Linked DNA regions of Homo sapiens: region 1 is linked to region 2. Evidence: promoter capture Hi-C in 16 types of primary human blood cells and fetal thymus (Javierre and others, 2016). All regions are on one chromosome and are shown on one strand. Each heading gives the region's core, a stretch centred on a gene start or on the middle of the fragment in contact. The rest is flanking DNA. Distances are from core to core; before and after follow the strand shown.

What was found. The method cuts DNA at HindIII sites, captures the fragments that hold promoters and counts their contacts. A CHiCAGO score of 5 or more calls a contact.
Region 1: a contact is called between the fragment with the promoter of RC3H1 here and the fragment with the promoter of VAMP4 in region 2, in 1 of 17 cell types (non-activated CD4 T cells). The highest score is 6.4, in non-activated CD4 T cells.

Annotation. Positions count from the first base shown.
Region 1 is chr1:174,018,833-174,024,870 of GRCh38, reverse strand. It overlaps RC3H1 (ring finger and CCCH-type domains 1), which reads left to right and starts at 2,514. Exons shown (of 20, transcript NM_172071.4): 1 at 2,514-2,775. RC3H1-DT (RC3H1 divergent transcript) reads right to left here and starts at 2,388. Exons shown (of 2, transcript NR_187284.1): 1 at 2,231-2,388; 2 at 1,681-2,088. RefSeq lists silencers at 2,279-2,528, 2,639-2,958 and enhancers at 3,165-3,704, 3,769-3,888. The HindIII fragment of the contact is 5,810 bases long and covers 1-5,340 here.
Region 2 is chr1:171,738,318-171,744,565 of GRCh38, reverse strand. VAMP4 (vesicle associated membrane protein 4) reads left to right here and starts at 2,501. Exons shown (of 8, transcript NM_003762.5): 1 at 2,501-2,656; 2 at 6,103-6,217. The coding sequence starts at 6,152. The HindIII fragment of the contact is 4,907 bases long and covers 1,332-6,238 here.

The DNA of each region.
Region 1 (6,038 bases), core at 1,265-3,764, 2.3 Mb before region 2:
CCAGCTAATTTTTTTGTATTTTTAGTAGAGACGGGGTTTCACCATGTTGGCCAAGCTGGTCTTGAACTCCTGACCTTAGGAGAGCCACCCTCCTCAGCCTCCCAAAGTGCTGGGATTACAGGCGTGGGCCACAATGCTCTGCCAAGACCGAGTCTTGCTGTCATCCAGGCTGGAGTGCAGTGGTACAATCTTGGCTCACTGCAGCCTCTGCCTCTCAGGTTCAAGTGATTCTCCTGCCTCTGTCTCCTGAGTAGCTGGGACTATAGGCGCGCGCCACCACGCCGGGCTTTTTGTATTTTTGGTAGAGACGGGGTTTCACCATGTTGGCCAGAATAGTCTGCATCTCCTGACCTCGTGATCTGCCTGCCTCGGCCTCCCAAAGTGCTGGGATTACAAGCGTGAGCCACCGCTCCCGGCCTTATCCCCTGTATCTTACACTTCTAGTCTGACTGGGGAGTTGAAAACATATGACTTCTCACAGATTAGTTTTTTATTTTTTATTGTAAGCATAAGTGTTTTCTTCAAAGCTGCTCTTCTTTTTCTGTCAAATGCATCTTTATATCACTAAAATGAATTTGGGTTTGGGGAAGCGCCGCCATTTTTAACTTTTTTTTTTTTTTTTTTTTTTTTTTTGAGACAGAGTTTAGCTCTTTTTGCCCAGACTGGAGTGCAATGGCGTGATCTCGGCTCACTACAACCTCCACCTCCCAGGTTCAAGTGATTCTCCTGCCTCAGCCTCCCGAGTAGCTAGGACTATAGGTGCACGCCACCACACCTGGCTAATTTTTGTATTTTTAGTAGAGATGGGGTTTCTCCACGTTGGTCAGGCTCCGGACCTCAGGTGATCCGCCCCCCTCAGCCTCCTAAAATGTTGGGATTACAGGCGTGAGCCACTGCATCTATCTGTCCTTTAACGTATTTTTAATTGAAATATTGACGAGATAAAAATAAACAACGTAAAAATCATACTGCTTAAGGGAACCTTTAAGGAGCCTTACCAACTGTGGTATAACTATTAATAGTTCAAAGAAATTACATTATCTAGGTTACTTGCAATGGAAGTTGAGTTACTCGCTTCACCTAAACAAGGAAGTTGGCATGTTTGCCTAGCAACAGTCGCTAAAACCTTCTGTTGTGGAAGGTTCCCTAGGAGTGAGAAGAAGGGAGGAGGAGGAAAAGCAGGAGGAGCAGATTAATCTGTTTTTCCTAGCAGGGTACAGAGGCCTGGTCTGAGAAGGGAAAGGCTTTAAGAGATCCCTTTAGATTGGCACATGCTAACCTAAATCCCCCTGTGGTAGCTAGAAATTCACTCTCTGTAGGACTGGGGTTACTATTTAGTAGGCTGAAAAGACGATTACAGATTAAACCCAGTTCAGAGGCAGCAAATTCCAATCAGTGGAAAGACAACAATAGGTCTTCTAAACAGAAGCTGAGATCTCAGTAGCAGGAGGGTGCTAACAACTAAAAAGAATTCTTCTCTGCCAAGAGTTTAGGAAGGTGTGTGATATTTCTTAAAAATAATACAAAAACACTATCTGTGATAGCGATTCCAATGTATCAAGTTAAAGGCAGAAGTGCTTCTCTTGGGGTACTGTGATGTAAACAGTGAAGAAAGGACAGAAAAACATAATCTCTGCTCTCTTGGTCAAATCCTGAAGCAAAAAAGGTGATAGCGCCGAGTAGAGGTATTAAATGGTTGTTTATTTGGGGACTCTCTCTCTCCTCTATTCTAGATGATTTATTTTGAAATTAGTACTGTATGGTGTTACAATAATCCCATTTCTTCCCCTTCTCAAAAGCGAGGGTTTGGCTAAAATGAATTGTCTGAAGGGACCTCCCATTCCCCAAAACCAAAACGGCACCTTTTCCACAAGGGACAAGAAACTTTTAAAGAGTCGCAAGGTTAGATTTCAGGAGCCCTTCTATGGGCCATATCTTTTCCTGTCGTCCCCAAATAGCTCTTATTGTTCACACAGCCCAGGAGAGACGTTTTGGAGTAGCGTGTCCGGGCCTTTTGGGCTGTTTCACAGCCTTAGGAGGCTGAACTCCCAGAGGGGTGACGAGGACAAAGCTGATGAGATCCAGAACCTGGATAATATGGAAGAAGAAAAATGGGGTGGGGGACAAGACGTGAAAAAGAAACAAGAGTTGGGGGACAACGGCTGAGAAAGCCGAAAGAGTAGACGTAGTGTGGGGTTCGATGGAAACGAAAGAAATTCCCCCAATTTACTCTCGCCATCTGGCCACTGGCCCGCTGAGCCCAAAGGCGCCGGTGCGGGAGGGCAGACCGGACCGAGGGACCGGTTCATCTGCTCAGGGCGTGTGAGACTTTCGGTCGCGGCGGAGAGCGTCGCCGGTCTCCCTCCGGGCGTTGGTGGCCGGTGACTCAGAGCTTTGCTCCCGCGCCCGCCCCTCCCCTCCGCCCGCCCCGCCTCCTGAGGGAGGATCCTCGCCCTCGTCTCCGCCCCAGTCTCCGGGGCGGGCCGGAGCCTGAGGAAGAGGAAGGGGACGAGGACAACGAGCGACTGGGCGGCGGAGGACGAGGAGGAGGAAGAGGAGGCCGAGCAACAAGATGGCCCCTGCTGCAGGAGCAGCCTCAGCAGCAGCAGGTGGGAGGCCGGAGGCGGTGCTGGCGGTGGCGGCGGCAGCCGTGGCCCGGCGGCCTGGGACAGAATCAGAGTCAACGGTGGCCTCGGCGGCGGCGGCGGCTGCCGCGGCGGTGGCGACGGCCGCGGGGACTCGGAGCTGAGAGGAGCTGCTGCTCGGACCAGCGCGGTGAGCGAGCGGCGGGCGGCGACTTGGGGAGCGGGGCTGCCGCGGCCGGGGCCTCAGTCGGGAACAATAGGCAGCTGTGGTCGGGAAGGGTTTGTCCTCGCCCGCCCTCTGCTCCTCCGCGGCAGCGGCAGCCCGGCCGGCCCCAGGCTCCTCAGGGCCCCCGCCGGCTGTTCTGGGGCTTGTCAGTGGCCGGCGTCCTTTAGGCCTCAGGCCTCTGCATGCCGCCTGTAGGGCCTGTCGGGGTAGGTAGGCCGAGAGGAGGACGAAGGGAGGCTCGGACGAGAGGGAGGGGGCGAAAGGGCTACCTGGCTCCTGTGGTACTCCCAGGGCCTGGGCCAGGCGGGGAATGCGCACGGGAACTGCTTTTTGGACCCCTAGTCTGTGGGGGTGGGGGAGGGCGAAGGCGTCTGTAAACAGGCGCCGCCTCGGCCTCCCAGCACCTCAGGGCTGCTTCCTCCCCCAGCCCCTGAAGCGCTCCCCTTCTTTGGCCAAGTGGATTTCACGGTGTCTGTTTCCCTGAAGTCCCTGGAGATCTAGCCTGGTAGTCTTCTCCCTGCTGGCGATGGGAAAATTGTGTGTGTGCAGGTGTCTTTAAAAAAAAAAAACAAAAAACTTAAATGCAACAAAAACATATAAAATGTGGTTATCGGTAAAGGATGGAGTGGTAAGGGATGCGCCTCTCTAAACATCTCTAAGTATCAGTTCTATAAACATCAGTTATGCCCGCATCCCAGGTGAGAGTGGATTGAAACAAGGGCTCTTTTGGAACAGTAATAACACAACTCTTGACATACCAGAATAGCCTATGAAACTGGAAACAAACACTGGCAACGCGGAGACAAACTGTAATGTTTAAAGAGGACTTTTATTCCAGCTAGGCGTTTTGAATTACTAACATGCAGTATAAGAAGCAACATTAACTAGCATAAAGTGGACCTCAGGAAGCACTTCGAAAGGAGACAGGTGGTTCATCTCCGGCCATAGAGCTTCTTGTGCCTTGTCTCGTGTTTCAGTAATTTTTCCTGAAATTGTTCAAGACCAGTCTTTTCTCTGAGTTTGAAATTTGATTTCGTTTTTGTTTTGTTTTGCGACGGAGTCTTGCTCTGTCACCCAGGCTGGATTGCAGTGGCACAATCTCGGCTCACTACAGCCTCCACCTCCCGGATTCAAGCGATTCTCCTGCCTCACCATCCGGAGTAGCTGGGATTACAGGCGCCCGCCACCATGCCCGGCTGATTTTTGTATTTTTAGTAGAGACGGGGTTTCACCATGTTGGCCAGGCTGGTCTGGAACTCCTGACCTCAAGTCATCTGCCCTCCTCCGCCTCCCAAAGTGCTTGGATTACAGGCGTGAGCCACCTCGCTCAGCCTTAAACTTAATTTTTCAAGGCTTCTACCACATTTTCTTACAAGTGAGGGAAAAGGTAGATTTATTTCTAAAGTACTTTCTACCTAGGTATGCAGAAATTTATATTAAAATCGCTTGGATACATCCAAGGAGATTGCTTTTCACTTGTTAACATTCAACTGCAAGGCCTAAGGGTTATAGGTTGTGTTCTTTTCAGCACTGACCTGTGCTGAAAAGATGCCAGTTAATATCTTTCACCTCTTCTAAGGGTAAATTTCTAAGTAGAATTGGTCCAAGTCTGTTCTAATTAAAAACATTATAAGCAGCACTAGTCTAGTTCTTAGTTCTTCCACAACAATTGACACTGAATAGATTAGCAATTGAATAAACATAAAGGTTGAATTTTCTTGTTTAGGATTTGAAGTATAGTGAATGAATATCAATACTGACCTTCATTTTATGCTTAGCATAAATAATGTTGGAGATGTTTTGATTTTTTGAATGATGGAGAAATAACAACTTTCTATGGCTCCTGATGTTGTGACTTTTTTGCAGATATTTCAGAAAGGACACCGTTTTTCAGGTGCTCAAATCTGTGATTTTTTTTTTTTTTCTGTGCTAATTTTGTTAGGTCAGCACAGATTCCAAGTAAAGTCTGTGTTATAATGATACTTAAATTTATGTATGGCCCTAAACCTATTAGAACAATTGTAGTAATTTATAGGTTGTAAGTTTTAAGTGGTTCATGTGCTGTGTTATGAAAACAATCTCACCGTGTTATGTCAAGGGCAGATTTACCTCATATTTAATATCATTTTCCTGAAAATAAATATTTTTAAGTGGTAAGGTTTTGTATTTCAGATTGGTTATTGACCCAGCAATTTATGGGCTTAGTCTGGGTCCGTATTTCTGTTCAATAGGAAAAAAATTTAGGGAATTGTTTTTATTTATTTTGTGTCAAAACAGTTTTAAGTTTTGACACAAACTCAACTGTCCCTTCTTCAGTATCAATACTTATTACTTAAGTTCACATTTTCTCAGGTAATAAAAATTTACTTCTAAGAAGTTTTGGAACCAGAGCTTAAGAATTAGATTTATATTTTCTTGGTAATATTAAAAGTTAATATATGCTTGATTTATTTGAAGAAATAAAAAAGGGTAATTTGTACACAACGCCTTTCAGAACATATTTGTTGAATGAATAAAAATATTTAAGCTTCCTCATTATGCTGCAGTATTAGTTCTGTTGTCCTCATTTTTTCATATGAAGAATGTGAAGCTAAGAGTAGCTATGTAACCAGCAAAAAGATCACATAATTAATAGGTAAAAGAGCTTACTCAGACTCAGATCTTGTGACACAAATTAGATTCTTTGCCACTACCACATGTGTCACAGTTAAACTTTGAAGCATCTTCTGTGTTGACAGATTCCTTTTTTTGCCTGTGAACTTACCCTATTATCATTATTTGTATCCTGTCAGATATCTACTTGTAAGACCAAGAAAGTATTTGTTCATGTGAATCACAAAAGAAACACTTAAATTTTTGTTTTTAGCATATCTGAATGCTATAAAATATAAAAACTCATACTGTTTACATAGGACAGATTTATCATACTGCTGTAATTGTTTTCATGGTTAATTTGTTACATAGGCAATTACTAAATTGTGCCTTTGAAATACTTTATAAATTTTTTTAAATAATTAAAGATATTCAATGATGTTAAAGTTGGGTCAGCTAATATTTGAAGTTCTTAATTTATAATTTTTTTTCTTTAAGCCATAGATAATTTAGAATTCTGCAGTATTTTTCATCTCCAGATCTTAGGGCTTGAAATGGATTCTGATGGGTCTAATCAGTCCACTCTTGCATATATCTTGAAAATGGTCAGCATCCAACAAAGTGAAGAATAAACT
Region 2 (6,248 bases), core at 1,252-3,751:
CCTTGTTCACTTTTACATTTTAAGTAATGTTGAACATTTAGCAACAAAATATTGAAAGCTAGAAGGGAGATGAATCAAGATGCAATTGCCTTAGCAGACTTGAAAAGTAGGAATCCCAAGCAGGCCATGAAGCAACCTGATACACACAGTGAAACCCTGTATAAGGCTCAGGAATTGGAAACACCACGTAAAGCTGAAGAGAGCATGATGTGAGCTATAAATACAGGCGGAATGGTATAAAGTCTGTTTAAGAATGAATCAGATGCTGAGATTCCCTTTGCTATCCCATCAAAAACCCAGAGATTTAGTCCTGAAAGACAGCAAAACGCTGATTCTCTAGCTAGGAGGACAGCAGGCCCTCTTAAGGATGAAGGTGTCATGTTGAAAAAGGGGAAAAGAAAATTAGAGGACTAACATCTGAATAACTGAAGCTCACTAAAAAGAAAATGGAGGAAATAAGTAACTCAAGTTGCTTGGAGTTCTGACTCTAAGCTCAGTGCTATTATAATCTTTTAGGCTTACTGGTATATTTGATTCATGTTAACTGTAAAATGACATTTTCTAAGTTTCACAAATATTGGGGTTAGTCAAAGGGACTTTGTTCAGGTGATTAAGGGTGGGGCTTGCATTACCCCTCTCCTAAGCGATCATTCCAAAATGACTGGCAGGACTAAAGAATTATGTTTAAAAAACAAAAAAACCCAAAGAATGGATTATCTGTAAAAGCTATGCAATGACGTGCCTGTTAGAGCTCACTGACCACACCTTAAGTTGTCTAAGAGATGAGGCTATAACTAGCTAAACTCTAATTGGCTAAGGCACCAAAGCCAGAAAATAGCCCATAACATGCAAATATACAGACATAAAATCAACTGTAAGTGCTGGGCACAGCTGCTCATGCCTGTAATCCCAGCTACTTGGGAGGCAGAGGCAGGAAGATCACTTTAGCTCAGGAGTTCAGAGCTGCTGTGCGCTATGATTGTGTCACTGCACTCCAGCCTGGGGGAAGAAGTGAGACTTCATCTCAAAAAAAAAAAAAAGATCAGCTGTAGAAGAAAAAATAATGTCAGGGTTACCTGTGGAGTCTGGGGGTAGACCCACTATCACACCTAGACAGGGATACAAACCATGAGAGGCTTCTCTTCTAAGTGGGCCGTTTCAGTCCAAGTTGCTGACTTGGACAGCAACTTGGACTGAATAAACACAGGCAACTGAGTTTAGCATTAAGCTTTCAGAACCTTCAACTGACAACTCAACGGCTGTTTCTAAATCTCAGAACATTTAAATCAGAATCTAGGTAGCACGTGGGCACCTACGTAGTTTTAAAAGCTTTCCAAGTGATTCAACTCCAAGTGAATCAGAGTGGAGCATCGTTGCCTTAGTCATGGCATCTTTCAAATTCGTTAGTACATTTTTACATAAAAATAAACATCAAACAAAAGAAGAACAACTTTTTGGTAAGAGGGTGTCTATTCTTTCCTTTCCTTTAGTGTCCGCAGATCTTTCCTCCTGCTGTTTTCTTGTCTACTCTTGTTCTTGAACACCCCCTCTTATTTTTATGTCTTTAGAAAGTGCCTGGCACAGTATTTCAGACAGTTAAAATACTGTATCAACAAAGGACCCATAGATACTGTATTAATTTTAAAAGATGTGTAGTGAATATGATTCAATGAGTAAAATAATCCAGCTGGGGCGTGGGAGGAACGGATAATAAAACAAATAAGAGAACGGAAAAACAAAATTAGGAATTGTTTCTGGTAGACAGCTACTGCGGGCGTGGAGATCTAAACATGATACCAAATTGGGCGGAGGGGGAGGGAGTGAGGAAGGAATGGGCAGAGTGGCGGAATGGCCTGGCGAGGGCGATTTCCTGAAGGCTTTCAGGTTACAACTAAGGGATACCGGGAAAAGAACACCGAGCCCTCGTCCCGTATCTATCTAAACTAGCCGTGTTAACTTTAAGTCAATCTCCTCTCTGAACCAGATATTCCTCCTATCTAAAGGGAGGAGCCTGGCCTTAACATCTCTTTCCAAGTCTAGCTCTAATTCTGTAAACAGGGGATCAAACAGATCTCCTTTCTTCAGAAAAGGCCCCAGACGAACCCGAAGCAGGTCCTCGAGCTGCGAGCCACTCTCCACTTGCCACTCAACGTAGTCAGCCAGAGGGACGGATGTGCCACCAAGCACCACCTTCTTTCTAACGCCTCATCACCCCAGCCACGCACTCCGGCGCGGCGCCCAGTCCCGAGCGGTTCTCGGAAGTTTCCCACTCCTCCCCTAATCGCCCTCCACGCACGCCGGATCACGACCGGAACGTGGACAACCAGTGGTTGTTCCTCCCCTAAAGCACAGCATAAATTTGGAGAGATGCATCTAAACTGCGTGTGGGTTCGGGCTCTTTTAGGTGAATAGGGCTCGGCGGATCGACTTCCTCGATTATCTCCGTGCCCTGGACCCGCCCCCTCCGCCTGGCGCCAGGCCGCCGAGCGCCGATCGGCTCGATGAGCGGAGGCGCTGCTGCGGCGCTGCGGCCGACGCCGGGTCCGCACCAACTGTCTCCCCCTCCCAGCTTCTTACCTCGGCTTCCTACTCCTTCCCCCGCCCGCCCAGCACCGCCAGCCCGGGAGAGCTGCCGGGAGTTCCCCGGGAGCCTCAGGTACTGGCGCTGGCCTGTTCGCAGCGGGAGGGGCTGGTGTGAGGAGGAAGGAAACGAAGAAGACGCCCCTGCCTTGCCGCCCCCCGACGTCCTAGTCGGGCTGGTCGGCGGGCCTCGGGGATCTAGGAAGGGACCCCGGAGTGGGAAAAGGTTGGGGCCGGGGGTGCCGTGAGGAAGGAAGACGAGGACAGGGGTATGCGGACGAGGAGCAGTTGAGGGAGAGAAGAATTGGAATTGAGGGGTACTCTGGGGTGATGGGAAGAGAACAGTACCATGGATGGGGAAGGTTTGTTAAGAGTGGGATGTAGTGAGGAATTCCAGGGGGTACAATGGGGCAGGAAGGGCCAGCGTTAGGAGCAGATATATCGTGGGACGTGGCCTGGTGTGACAGATTGGGTGTGGGGGGTGAACGGAGCTGCCTGAAATTGTGTATTTAAAGGGCCCGGGGGAAAGAGCGCCAACCCTGCTGTGTTTATAATGACCGGAAGGTGGGGGTGAATCGTTACACTTGACAGGTTTTGCAAATAATATCTCCGGTCTGTGTCCATCCAAGTCACTTTATTTCTGTGAAACTGCATCAAGCAAGAAGGCTGATGACAGACAAGGAAGACGAATCAGAAAGAGAATGGAGGCTGGGAAAAGGAGAGCCTTTGCCCAGATTCAAAGCTATTGACTAGATAACGTACTACTTACAAAAACGCACACATAGACATTTAAGTATATGCTGATGTATAAGAAGCATACGGTGATGTGACTCATTTGAGTGAATTGTATAGTGGTGGTCTATCCTCAATGTGGAAGTACATGATGGCTCTCTTATTTACATGTATACCTAGTCACAAACAGCTGAATTCACATGTCTTTTTTTGTAGGAGAAATCTTAGGCAGACTATATCCTAGTCTACTTTCTGAGCATGATTTATTTCTACTAGTTGTTTGATACACATATCAGTTACTAATAATCAGTTGCAAATAACATCAAAGTTCATCAAGGTAGCTAATTAATCTGCCTACTGCTTTGCTGATGGGCTATTTGTTGCACATGGTTTCTTGGGATTAAGAGACCTGAATATGGTGTTTGCTCATCCTTAAGATTGTAGTTTTACTGTATGTCTTATAAAGGCATTATATAAGTCTGCCCGTTGTTTGCTTTGGGATGTTGAGGCAGCCTCATTGCAGGGGTTAAAATCTAAATACAGATAATAGTTAAAAGCACAAGTTCTTCAGTAATTTGCCTTGTCATCTGTTTTTCCATGCATTCTGTTACATTTCTGCATGAATGAAGTATTCTGACATCAAAGTATGAGGAATAAAAGGGCCAGATGTATGTGACAGAAATATTGTGGAACCAAGAACTCAAGAGCTGTTACTCAGGCAGCAAGAATTTGGTTTTTGTTACAAGTGAATAATTTCTGATTTGGAAGCATTTCTTATCAAAGAAAAGTGTGTCCTTTGGTTTTGACAAGCAGCTGACTTAAAACATTACTTTTATTTGGTTCGTGAAGCCAGATCCTGGGATTATTCTTTTTTAAGTGTATATCATTAACAAACAAACTGATGTCTAACTATACCTAATTTAAAGGTCTAAGTGTTTCTTCTTATGGAAAAGGAAGCAGGACTATTGGGTTGTTAGCAGGAAGTGAGTCTTTCTAGAACAGAATTCTGTAAACCTGATGGGCAACTAATTGAACAAATGATTAAAACTGATAATGCACAGCCATTGATTAATTTAGGCCTGTATCTCTGCTGTTTCAATGAATGTAGTGACTAACGTTATCGTTACTAAACTTTAGTTTTCTCCTAGTTTCTTGGTGCCTACTTTAAAGAAGCATCATAAAGAGTAAAAGAAAATGCATGTGTATCACTGAGCACCGTGCCTAGCACATAGTAAAACATTCAGTATTTCTGAGCTATCCTGAATTGATGGGTATTCATCTACCATCTAGTCAAAAATACTGAAAATTCATTATTTGCATAGAAGAACTTTTTCGCAAAAAAAAATTTTAGTATGTTGCATACACAAGCATTTTCCTGGAAAGTCACAATGCATATTAGCATATAACAGGATGTGAGTCATTCTGTAGCAAAGAAAACTAGCTTTGTTTAATCCAGTTGTTTTGATAGAAAAAAATTGAGTTTCTCCTATTCTCTCTCAACACAGACCCCCAAAAGATTTCTCCTCACAAGCAAGGAGGAAATTCTGCAGCAGATTCTCCAGCTGGGTGTCCTCTAATTCAATTCTGATACTGTATACCTAGAGATAGCATCAGATCCTGCAGGTTGAGGGCTTAATCCTACAAGATTCCCCCCACTTCAGGTGCCAATCACAAGTTCCAGGTTGTTTTACCTGTGTTTCCAACTGACTGGCTATAAATCAGAGTTCCCACAATCCCTTCCTTGTGTTCAGTTTATTTGCTAGAGTGGCTTACAGAATTAAGAGAAACACTTTGTTTACTGGTTTATTATAAAGGATAGAGATCAACAGCCAGATGGAAGAGGTGCATAGGGCAAGGGGTACAGAGCTTCTGTGCCCTCTCCAGGTGTGCCACCGTCCAGGAACTCTCTACTTGTTCAGCTTTTGGGAAGCTCTCTGAACCCTGTCCTTTTTGGGTTTTATGGAGTCTTCCTTAGTAGGCATGATTGATTACATCATTGGCTATTAGAAATCAGTTCAACCTTGAGCCCTCCTCCCCTTCCAGGAAGCTAGGGGGTGGGGCTGTAAAGTCCCAGTCTTCTAATCATGCCTAGGTTTTTCTGTGACCAGCCTCCATCTGGAATCTATCTGGGGGCTAAGCTACCAGTCATCTTATTAGCATACACAAGACACATCACTGCAGCGATTCCAAGGATATGTCAGGAAATGGGGATTAAGACCAAATGAGTATATTTTGTAAATCACGATATCACACCAGTACTTACCAAACTTACCCCTTTTCATGGAGTACCAATGGGACATTATAGTTTGCAGAATATTTTTGCATGTATTATCCAATTTGACCGTCCCAACTCTGCAGAAGCCTGAAAATCAGTATTTTACACCTGAGGAAACTGAATCATTGCTTAAGCAACCAACTAAAAGTGAGAGAAATAGGCATGTTCTCCTGTCTTCTGACTCCAACTTTAAATTGTAAAGCATTTAATGTCTCAGTGAGACGTCCTCCCTCTACTCTCTGCTCTTTCATTTTATAAAAATCTTAAATCACTCATATCCTACACATGTTCTCTTAGGGCAATTACATCCATTTTCTCATAATTTTAACTATTTCTTAGGTGTTGAGGTCTAGCATGGAGGCCCCAGTCACTGGAGTGGAACAAGTGAGAGGGCAGGAATTGAAGTCAGAAAAATGAGGGAGTCCCTGTCATACAGGGTTTCATGTACACTGTTTTAAGTACATTAGCTTATGCCCCAAAGTCTCAAATCTGATGAAATTTATTTTCTCTTTAAGGTGGTGACTATCCTGTTGAGAAGCAAAAGATACTTTGCAAGTAAAAAATATGCCTCCCAAGTTTAAGCGCCACCTCAATGATGATGATGTCACAGGTTCTGTGAAAAGTGAAAGGGTAAGTTCGGAATCTTAAGCTTTAAAAACAA